3 separate regions of the Homo sapiens genome follow, and regions 1 and 3 are each linked to region 2. The links are contacts of gene promoters, found by promoter capture Hi-C in human tissues and cell types (Jung and others, 2019). All regions are on one chromosome and are shown on one strand. Each heading gives the region's core, a stretch centred on a gene start or on the middle of the fragment in contact. The rest is flanking DNA. Distances are from core to core; before and after follow the strand shown. Region 1 has its middle 350 kb from the start of LRATD1. Region 2 holds the start of NBAS (NBAS subunit of NRZ tethering complex). Region 3 has its middle 310 kb from the start of LRATD1.

The links. The method cuts DNA at HindIII sites, captures the fragments that hold promoters and counts their contacts. A contact is called where the count stands out against the background at its distance.
Region 1: a fragment that was not itself captured here is called in contact with the fragment with the promoter of NBAS in region 2 in 2 of the 25 tissues and cell types used here (H1 embryonic stem cells and hippocampus).
Region 3: a fragment that was not itself captured here is called in contact with the fragment with the promoter of NBAS in region 2 in 2 of the 25 tissues and cell types used here (lymphoblastoid cells and thymus).

The regions. Positions count from the first base shown.
Region 1 is chr2:14,983,503-14,986,900 of GRCh38, forward strand. It overlaps a transcript of NBAS not described here. Among named protein-coding and RNA genes, the nearest start is that of LRATD1, 350 kb to the left of the region's middle. The HindIII fragment of the contact is 6,561 bases long and covers 1-3,398 here.
Region 2 is chr2:15,559,287-15,562,865 of GRCh38, forward strand. NBAS (NBAS subunit of NRZ tethering complex) reads right to left here and starts at 2,048. Exons shown (of 52, transcript NM_015909.4): 1 at 1,902-2,048. The coding sequence starts at 2,018. LOC105373440 (a long non-coding RNA gene) reads left to right here and starts at 2,862. Exons shown (of 4, transcript XR_001739297.2): 1 at 2,862-2,897. RefSeq lists an enhancer at 1,838-2,247. The HindIII fragment of the contact is 7,047 bases long and covers 1-3,579 here.
Region 3 is chr2:14,941,269-14,945,066 of GRCh38, forward strand. It overlaps a transcript of NBAS not described here. Among named protein-coding and RNA genes, the nearest start is that of LRATD1, 310 kb to the left of the region's middle. The HindIII fragment of the contact is 3,821 bases long and covers 165-3,798 here.

The DNA.
Region 1 (3,398 bases), core at 590-3,089, 580 kb before region 2:
TTTGCAATAACTAAAACAACTCCAGGCATGTAATAAGGGCCCAAATATAAGTCCCCAACCCACTACCCAAATTTCAGAACATTTTATCAACAAAAAATACAATCAATGAAGAAAAGTTAAAGCAATAGGATTACTTGGCAAGGGTAAGAAAAGTTTGAGGGACAGAATTAATAACTGCCAAATTATCTACATAGAGAAGGTGTTTGCTGTCCATCTTCAGGGAAAGGGATAGAAGAAAGTACTCCAGGTTTGAGATAAAGGAAGACTTTGGTCTTGTGAAGGAACATTAAACATACAAATGGATTATGAAAGGAGGCATTAAAAACCCCTTCGTGGGAGTTTTAAAAGCAGAACTTGATTCTGTGGTTTAGGATGAGTTTCCAGTGCTCCTGGCAACACAGGAGTCATGGACAACAAGACTTCTGCTGTCAGAATCCGCGATTCATTGAACATAAATATTTGCCCACGTATGTGGGGCTTCCGAGGGGGCGTGCCAACCCTGGTTCTTTAATGAGGCAGAATCCCATTAAAAAATGCAATTTCAGAACATTTTATCAACAAAACAATATATAACCAATGAAGAAAACTTAAAAGCATTAGGATTATTTGACAAGGGTAAGAAAATGGCTGACACCATAGTCAGCCATTCAGCGCCCTCTGCCCAAGCCCCACGATGTACCTGGTTTTCCTTCACTCCTCATCTTTTCTCTAGTTTCATCCTTTAACTCCACGCCCTGACTTTAGTCTCTGCCCCCTACCCTTCCTAGATTCAGCTCTGTTCACTACCTCCTTATGGGCACTGAGACCTTGGCAATTCTCTATGACTCCCATGCCTTCAAGGTGAGACTTTTGCACTTCGGCTAGTAGACTAGATCATTAGAAGGTGAAACAAGGGCAATTTCCAAGTCAGTGTAAAACAAATGAATACATTAAAGGTTGTGTGTTTTCAGCGTAAAACAAATGAATACATTAAAGGGCGTGTGTGAGCACTGACTTAGTTGGGAAATAAGTGAGCTGAAGCGGAATTTGAAAGTCCCTCTAAGTGAACTACTTTAGAGGTATAGAATGCATCTCTAGATACAGTAAATACAACTGCTTATATGTCAGACTCCAGTTCTATTTCTAGCCCAGCACTAATTCTGTCCCTCTCCCTATACTTCCCTCCATATTCCCCATCCCACCCCTTTCTCCACCCCCAGAAGAGTTGATGTGATCACAGAAGAGTTAATTCGAGTTGGTCATTTTCCATCCAGAATGCTGATTAGTCATGAACATCATGTGAAAGGTCATATGCATGAACGTAGGCAGGTCTTTTCCTACCTACTTCCAAGTGGCTGGATGTGTAGGCTGAGTGGGGACCTGAAAGCCCCAGCCTGTGAGATGCCTCAGAGTGGTGGTGGGTGAGGTGTTAGACCCTACGAGCAGGCAGGCAGCAGAAGAGCAAATGAGCAAGTCCCTGTGCAATTAGGAAGGTGTCATCTTTTGGAACTCAGGATGGCGGCCCAAGTTCATGAAAACTTCGTGAAATTATCATAAATAAAGGCATAAGTGAGAAATATAAAAACCCATGTCTGGAATACTATTGTTCAAAGGGCAGCTGTCAGAGCAGAGGTAAATGTACAGTGACGGGCTGGGAAGGCTTCGGAATTGGTATATTTGCAGAACACTATTGTTTACACAGGGAACGCCAGCAACAGAAGAAATAGATCCGATTTTAAAAACAGATTTTGGTCCTATAATGAGAAGAGGGATTAAAGAAAAAAGGAAAGAGAAAACACTGTCATCCAGGAAACACTGTCAGTCCTGCCCAGGTTAAAGGAAAAATTAGAACAACTTCAGGAACAAGTCAAAAATTTTAAACATACTTGGGCTAGCCTGAAAAACATAAGGTAGCAAGAGAAAACTAGAGAACTGGAAACATATCCCGCAGCTGCGAACAGCAGAGACGATAGGAAGTAAAGCTTCTAGTGACAGTAAAGTGGAATAAGATAAAGTCAGACAACTAAATAGCTGAGAAAAGGCAAGATGTTGGACAAGAGTGTATAAAAAATATAAATCGTTTCCTCTGAGTCCCCAAGATCTCAGACTATGAAGCAATAACTGCTGTTTCAATGCAGAAATCTATTGAGGACAGGGGCTCTTTCCATACATTTGTATTAGAGGAGTTAAAATTGTAATTGTTGGTTTAAATGTCTAGAAGCTAGTGGGGTACCTAATAAAGATATTCACTGAATTTAAAAATATTACATACATGGCTTCCACTTTGAATTTCTGAATCCTTTATACTTGATTTTGAGACTGCTTTAATATAAAAAAATCAAATGCAGTTAAAATTGCATTATTAATTCTGAAAAGGTATGTGAAAATTAGGGTGTTTACATGTCATATAGTGGGTGCACTTAGGAATCTCAAGTGTACTGATGATCTAAAACCAGTTTCTGACATTAACCACACAATCTTCCATGGCATTCTCTAGGTAGAGATCAGTAAAACTATGGCCAGAGCCACATGAGTAGTTGAAATAATTAAAGCTCCTTTTAAGCGCAATGCATTTGGTTAGAATTCACATGTAAATTGTGGATGTTAATCATTTTATTAACAAGGTACTATTTTGAGTGTGTGTTTTAGCTAGGAATTATCTTACAAATATCCCAGAGCAAAATTAAATTGCTCATTTTCAGGTGTTTAAATCCCTTACAGGTATATCTTGGGGCAGCATAATTGGGGAAAAAAAAAAACCTGTTTTCAACTAACTAAAAAGATATGGATTGAAATGTTCCATTATAATTCCCATACTAATATCTCCTGCCAACATATAGAGTAGCCCATTAAATCCACAACAGTTCAGATAAAGAATACACTTAACACTACCGAGTATAAGGTTGTTAAACAATTAATCTAATACACTGAACCCTTCTCCCCTAAGAATATAAACTCCAGCTTACGGTACACCTTCAACCAATGGAGAGAAAAGGAGGTTTTCATATATATTACATTTCATTAGTCTCTTCAATTCTCCATCATTTCCTGATTTTTTAAAGAAACCTAACTGAATTATTTCATATAAAGACCTACTTATATTTCACAGTACCAATTTTCATGCACACTTAAAGAAATTGATAATAACCTCCTTCATTTGCAGAAAATAGACCATAGCTTACCACTTGAAGTTTATTTACTTGAACTTTCCAATGAGACAACTTCAGTGTTTAGACAATCAAGAATTCTTCCCCTAAAGCAATCTGTAAGAAAGGTGGCTATTTTAATACTTGGAAAATCAAATATGAAGTTTGCTTAATAAAGTAAGACTCTTCAAAGTTACCCACAAAAAAAGTATGCTAGAAATGCCATCATTTGATCAATACAGGAGTTCTCAAATTCCATAGGAAAAAATGTAA
Region 2 (3,579 bases), core at 798-3,297:
TTTTGCTCACAGGAAAAGTGGTCATATCTCCAAGGCCAATTCATTGACTATCTGTTGTGTATCTATACAGACAATGCTACTAACAAAACATACACAGATACGTAATTGCTATATTAAATAATTCCATTCCATAAGTATAGACTGAACACACCGTGGGTAGGTTCATGACGCTAGGCACTGCATAAGATGCACTAAAGTGCTGTCAAGAAAAGCACAATGGACATACAGTAAGTGTAGACAGATTTTTTTAAAAAACACAGAAAAGTTATTTCACTCAATAAACATGAATTGATTGTTGGATTCATGCAAGACACAATTTGGCCCTGGGAAGAGATATAAAGATGAATCAGATGTCTGCCCTCCAAGAGCTTATAATTCAACAGCTGAAATCAACAGAATGCAGAAATCGATAGAATGCAGAAATCAATTGAACTCCCCCACCCCCAACACACAAACACAAAACAAAGTGCTAAGGGTTTCAAAGTAAGTTAATTCTGTGGTTACTTTTTTGGAATCAATTTATGGTAAGCATTCTGAAACATTACTGCAATTAACCAATGAGTGTTAAGGAGTGGAAACTTATCTAACCAGCTGCCTCAGCAACAGCTTCCTAGCTGCATAACCCAAAAAATATTCACATTAAGACAAACTAAGTACTTGAAATTAAACAGTAATATATGCAGATCTCTACCCGTCTACAAAATAAATTATTCATGATAAGCACAAACTGCAGTGGGAAGGAGGCTACAGAGGAAAAAAATACAAACTTTGGGCTGAAAAATGAGTCGTTTCTCCAGCAAAGAAACACTCAGAAAAAATGTAAGATAACTCACATGGGCTGGACTACATAATCTTTAATAAAGGTTCTTTTCGATCTGGCTGCTTCCTCTGGGTCTAAAACAGTAACTGGCACGTGTTAAGCACTCAATAAATATCTGTTAAATAAACATGGATCCAAAAAATAATAATAATAAAAAATAAAATAAAATAAACATGGATCCATGGTTCCTACTCTTCATCACAGACCCGGGAGGCCTTCACTACCAAACAACTGATAATCCCAAGATCCAGTCCATAAATTATCAACCTCTATAACCCTTCTGTAGCGGAGATCCCAATCCCAGTCAGCAGCTCTTTACTCTGCACTTCCGTGGCATTTTGCTCACATCGCTAACTATAGCGCATAAAACGCTAGGTTATGAAAAACGTTTACGGGACTGTCTCCCCTCTAGACGAGAAGCTCCACGAAAACATATTCATCTCTGTATCCTTAGCACCTAGCACAGCACCTGTGACACCGAGACAGACGAACGGACACGCACACCCTTATTAAATGCTCTTTTATTGAAACACACAAGACCTGGCGCGATCCAGCCCCCAGTATGGGTAAAGGCTCAGATTCTGCGCTCTGCACCAGCCTGGCAGATGCTGCAGACTGTAAGGTCCTGGAAAATTCTCCCATCGCAGTTGAGCGTCGGCCCAGACTAGCCCTAGCCAGACCGCGAGAAGGGACCACTGAGGGTCCAGATAGGAGAAAGGACCCTCGAGTCCAGCGCTGTGCCTTCCCCTCCTAATACAGAGAGCGACACTAACAATCCCCTCTCCTCCCAATACAGAGAGCGAAACTGAGAACCAAAGTGGGATCGTACGCTCCCCAGAGCACGAAGTTCCAGCCCCCAACAACCGAATTCTGAGCCCAGGAAGAATCTCAGGGACCACCACCCCACCCCGCCCTAGACCCCCGCTAGCCCAAGGTGCCGTTGCCAAGGCGACCGCACAAGCCAACCGGCCCTAGTCCCCCACCCACCCGTCTCCACTCCCCTACGTGGCTCCTGCTACGTGGCTCTACCCACGAAGCGCCCGCGCCAAGCTGGCTGCTGCTGTAGATGGGCCTGGTTCACCTGTACTTCAGTCTCCGGTGGCCACTCGGTGTTGACCAACAAGTCATAGAGAATCGTCTCCTCCTCACCCTCTGCAGTGCCTGGACTCAAAGCCGGCCCTGACTCGGGGGCCGCCATGTTCGCCGAGGACTCAGGCAGCGGAGGAGTGTCTCTACGGAATCCCTCACAGGACAAGCTTCTCTATCCGCGGCCGCTTTTGTTTCACGGCAAGGAAATGCTAGGTTAACCCTTTTATGAGTAGGAAGGACAGGGACTATTGCTTGTCTTGGGAACGACTTGTGTCCCGGTCCTGATACACTCCTTGTTCATTAATCTACATGAGATCGGCCAAGTCATTGAGCCTCTCTTATAACTCAGTTTCCATAAAACAGAAATGGTAAAGGTACCCCACTGAAATGCTAATGTTCATTTGTATATTCTTTGCCTAACACGTAGAGAGAGTTCAAACAGTGGTTTTAAAATAAACAACTAAAGTTATCCAATGAAAGGTAGCAGAGGAAGGATGCTACAGGAGCTCAGAAAAGGCAACGAAGGCCAGAGTCTGCAGGGATTTCCTGGAGGACGTGGAGCTTGTCCCTGCGTCTTTAACAATAGGCAGAATTTTAATCTACTGGAGAAGCATTTCAAGTAGCGGGAAATGGAATGAGCAGAGACAGAGGCAGAAATACAGAGTTGAAAGAACTCTTTCAACGTGTCGCCAGTGAGTGACGACTTTCTCAGTGTGGGAGTAAAAGAATTTACCAAGACAGTGGTAGATAAAGAAAGACAGATTAAAGAAAGTATGAAAGTTCGTTGCCAGGGAGCAGCGGGCCGACTCAGCAGAGGAGGAGCTCATTGCTAGGAAACAAAGGCTTGTTGAGAATTTTATAGACTGGAACTTGGAGTGATTGATAACACCAGGTAGCAGGGAGTTAACTTGCTTTTTTTTTTTCTTTCTTTCTTTTTTTTTTTTTTTTTTTGTCAGCTGAAGTGTTTCAGAAATTGAGGCATTTGAAGGTAAGCAGGAAGTTTGTGAGTTAAGTACGTTATCTGGGTAGAAGGGCCATATGTCCTGGGCCATAAAGAAAAGTAGACCTATGGCTTATTTGTTTCTTCCTTTTGTTTATATGTTTTGGACCATGAAGAAAGACAGACGTATAGCTAATTTGCCTTATCTCTTTGTTTTTCCCTGCTCCCACTAGCCTGCCTTTTTTTTTTTCCTAATTAGTACTCAACAAGACGGGTGAATAGAACCCAAGTTGAGAAAGGGTGTAGGGGCAATAAAGTTGAAATAATAGGTTGAGAACCCGCATGGAGGGAGCGAAAAGGTCAACCCCATTTGTTCATTCATTCATTCATTCAACAAATACCTCTTTGTGGACAGTTATAAGCAGAGCCTACTGTAACATGAATGAATATATACTGTACAAAGTATTACACTGTTTCACATCAAAAGAAACACAAATACTGAATATCCCTTGAGATAATTATATTCATGATATCCATCAAGATGCATTAGGCGGTGATGCAATTAAAAGCCTCTGCTGGGAAGCCTCTAACCAGCTCCCATTTCTCTCAAAGTTTAATGACCTCAAAGCCCTACGTCATCTGCCTGCTCCCCTAAATCTCACACCTCATTTCCTGCTCCCCCTACTACCTTCAGCCACACTGGCTCTATTTCTGAACACACCAGACACAC
Region 3 (3,798 bases), core at 825-3,324, 620 kb before region 2:
TATGACTATCTCTGTAGGCTTTTGGAGAAAGACAAGCCTCTTTTCCACCCAGAGCAATGCTGGGAGGGTGTATGTGTAGCTCATTTGGACAGAGCCTCTACATGTGGGCCTCTGAAAGCTTCAAAAAGCATTTGCTCCTACTCCAAGAAAGAACAGGGAGCTCTTTTCAGAAATTGCTGACCTCATCTAAGTGGAAAGGAATCCTGGAAGCTTCAAACGCATCCGTTCTGGCCTCCAGCCCTGGACTTTCTTGCAGATGCACTTTTCAGGAAGGAGGAAGGCAGAGCAGATGGATGGTCTGCTGACGGGCTCAAAATACTTCCCGGAGCACTGAAAACAGGGTGACTGCTGTTCAGGCTGCTGCTGTGTGTCACCCGCTCCCACAGAGGACTACACTCAATTAGGAGATTGTTAAACCCAATTGTCATAGCGACAAATTATCTGATTGTTGAGATTTTCTGCTGATTTTGTCTTAGGAATTGGTCTCCTATTTTCAGCCACAGATTGTTATCAGACTGCGGATTTAGCATCTTCATTTCCTTCCACATCCTTGATTATTCTGGTCTCTGCTTTCTTGACTGACTTCAATATGCAAACATAATACCCACAGAGAAAGAGGGGGAGGCTCTCTACTGGTTGGAGGATGAGTTACAATGTTCATTGCTTCTTTTCTCCAATGGGTAGGTTTGCTTTTTCTCAGACTAGTTGGGAACATATCCAGCAGCTTCTCAGGTATTCCCAACTGCAAACCGTTGAGTACCAAATTGAGACACGATGGTTCTAGAAATTCTCTTCCAAACCCCTTATTTTACAATATAGAAACTGAGGTCTAGAAAGAAGGGTGATTTTCCAAAAGTTTATCAGAGAGTTGAAGCTAAAGCCAAAATAACTATTCTACCTCGTTCAGGATAATTTTGTATTGGTATTCAAGAGCTGCCAGTTATCTAGAAGGCACCCTGATATGGTTTGGGTCTGTGTCCCCACCAAATCTCGTGTCAAATAGTAATTCCCAATGTTAGAGGTAGGGCCTGGTGGAAAGTGATTGGATCATGGGAGTGGATTTCTCATGAGTAGTTTAGTGCCACCCCTCTTGGTACTGTCCTCATGATAGTGAGTTCTCATGAGATCTGTTTAAAAATTATGTAGCACCTCACCCCTCACTCTTTTCTTCCTGCTCCAGCCATGTGACATGTCTTTTCCCCCTTCCCCTTCCACTGTGATTGTAAGTTTCCTGAGGCTTCCTCAGAAGCTAAGCAGATGTCAACATCATACTTCCTGTACAGCCTGTGGAACCATGAGCCAATTCAACTTCTTTTCATTATAAATTACCCAATTGCAGGTATTCCTTTATAGAAATGAGAGAATGGACTAATACAGACTCTAACTCCCACTCCCTGTGGGGAAAGGTGGAGTGTCACAGCTAAAGCCTAAACCCCCTATTGACACAAGGAGAAGCCAAGGACCACAGAAAGGAAGATATTACACAGTCTAGTCAGGCCTGGCCCAAGCACATAGTAGAGGCTCAACTCATCACAGCTGAGTCTCAATCTGTAGAGAAAAATGACTTTCACCTATGCTTAAAGTATTGTTAGAAGTGTAGTCCTTTTCTTTGGACTCCAAGCCCCATAATAAAAGGCAAGACCTGGTTTCTACTATTGCAAAAGGAGAGCCAGGGACCTCTCTGCAGATCTGCCTTCTTCTCTGAATATACCTCCCTCAGCAAAGGGAACGCAAAGGTGGGTCTCCTTATGGTTTTATTATGGCTAATGAACAGCATGTTCTCTCTTTCCTCATTCTCAGCATGAGGCTATTAGCATATTCCCCAGGCTTTTGCCCTCCAAATTTGGAAGCACATGCATAAATTATCAAATGAGCCGTTCTAATGCAAAGCTTCTAGTCATGTTCCTAATCAGGGACTCTCAATGACTCACCAAAACCTTCAGAATGAAAGGCCACCGGATACACTTGTAGCAAGCTTTACTACATCTGCATCAAAGAACCACTTTATCCCCTTAATTCCATGCATGAGCAGAACTAAAAGAGCCACTAATAATTTTATCTTACCAATTTCATGTATATTTTCATGTTACAGCCTAACTTTAACCCAGAGGCTGGAAACATTCTTCTTTACTGACAAATAAAAAAGCGTATCTGCTGTAAAATTGCCTTCTGACTGTAATTCCTAAAAGCTACCTAATTGCATTGCAGTGTCAACCTAGAAAATTCATACAATCACAGAATATAATATTTGGAAGAAAACATTCAGGGTAATTTACATTATTAATGCATCACCTTCCAGTAATTAGCACAGTTCTTTGTACATAAATATTCAAGACCACTTTATTATTAATTAATAACCCTTACCCTTGTTTTACATCTGTGAAAACTGAGTCTCAGATATAAGTAGTGATTTGCCTGAGCTCACAAATGTTGGAGTCAGAATTGAAACCTAGGTGTTCAGATTCTTAGGAACTTTGTTTCTTTTATTATGTCTCTGATAGAATCGCTTCTATTTTTATTAATTTTTTAAACTTCATGACTATAACCTCAAAGTAAATTATTTTCCAATAGGATTTGAGAAAGCCCCATGATTCCTTTTTTGCAAGCACAGCAAACAAGGAGTAGGCACCATCTCACCAAGTCCCAAAGAAGGAACCACATTGGTCCACAAAGTTCCCCCTGCTTCTCCAGGAAGCTATGAGGATGATTGCTCCATTCGTTCAACCAAATAAAAAAAACTACTAATCCCTGCCAGGTGCGGTGGCTCACGCCTGTAATCCCAGCACTTTGGGAGGCCGAGGCGGGCGGATCACGAGGTCAGGAGATCGAGACCATCCTGGCTAACGCAGTGAAACCCCGTCTCTACTAAAAAATACAAAAAATTAGCCGGGCATGGTGGCGGGCGCCTGTAGTCCCAGCTACGCGGGAGGCTGAGGCAGGAGAATGGCGTGAACCCGGGAGGCGGAGCTTGCAGTGAGCCGAGATCGATCGCACCACTGCCCTCCAGCCTGGGCGACAGAGTGAGACTCCGTCTCAAAACAAAAAACAAAAAAACAAAAAAACAAAAAACTGCTAATCCCTGCTATGAATCCTGCACAGTGTAAAGTGCTTCACTTCAAGTATCTCATTTATTTTTCACCCCAACCCTACAAGGTCGGTACTCTTCTCCAACACGTCCTTGACACAACTGGTAAGAAGCATACACAGGATCACACAGCCCATCATTGATACAGCTGTGACTTGAACCTTGGTGACTTTCAGTGATATGAGTTCACTTTCCATGAAGGTATTAAAAGAACAGTGAGATTTCTGGTTCCAAAATGGTGGCATACAAGCAAGCTGACATCACTAGCCCTTACAGAAAATCAAAAAATGAACATATGGCACAAGATTATCACCAGCAATCTTTCAAAACTCAAATATGAAGACGAGACAGTCCTCAGGGACACAGAAAGTGAAAAGTGAAAGAAAAAAAAAAAACTCTGAACAGATGGTAAGAGAATCAGGCTTCCACATTCACAATGTCCCTCCCCCCATTCTGCCCAGCACCAAGTGAGCAGAAAATTTTTACCCAATTCACAGTTTCTATACCGGAAATGGTGATTGCCCACCTGAATCTCACTTTCCCCACTATCTTGGGTGTCCTGGCAGGACACTTGCCTCTGCCGTAATGCAGGAGAAGCATCATGAGTGCCTGAAGGGAAAAATGTCCCTGTGACAGGCAAAGACAAAGTGAAGAGGGAGGGCGACCATCCCCATCCCTGGAAACTCTACTGTGTAACTCAGCCAAAGGAGATG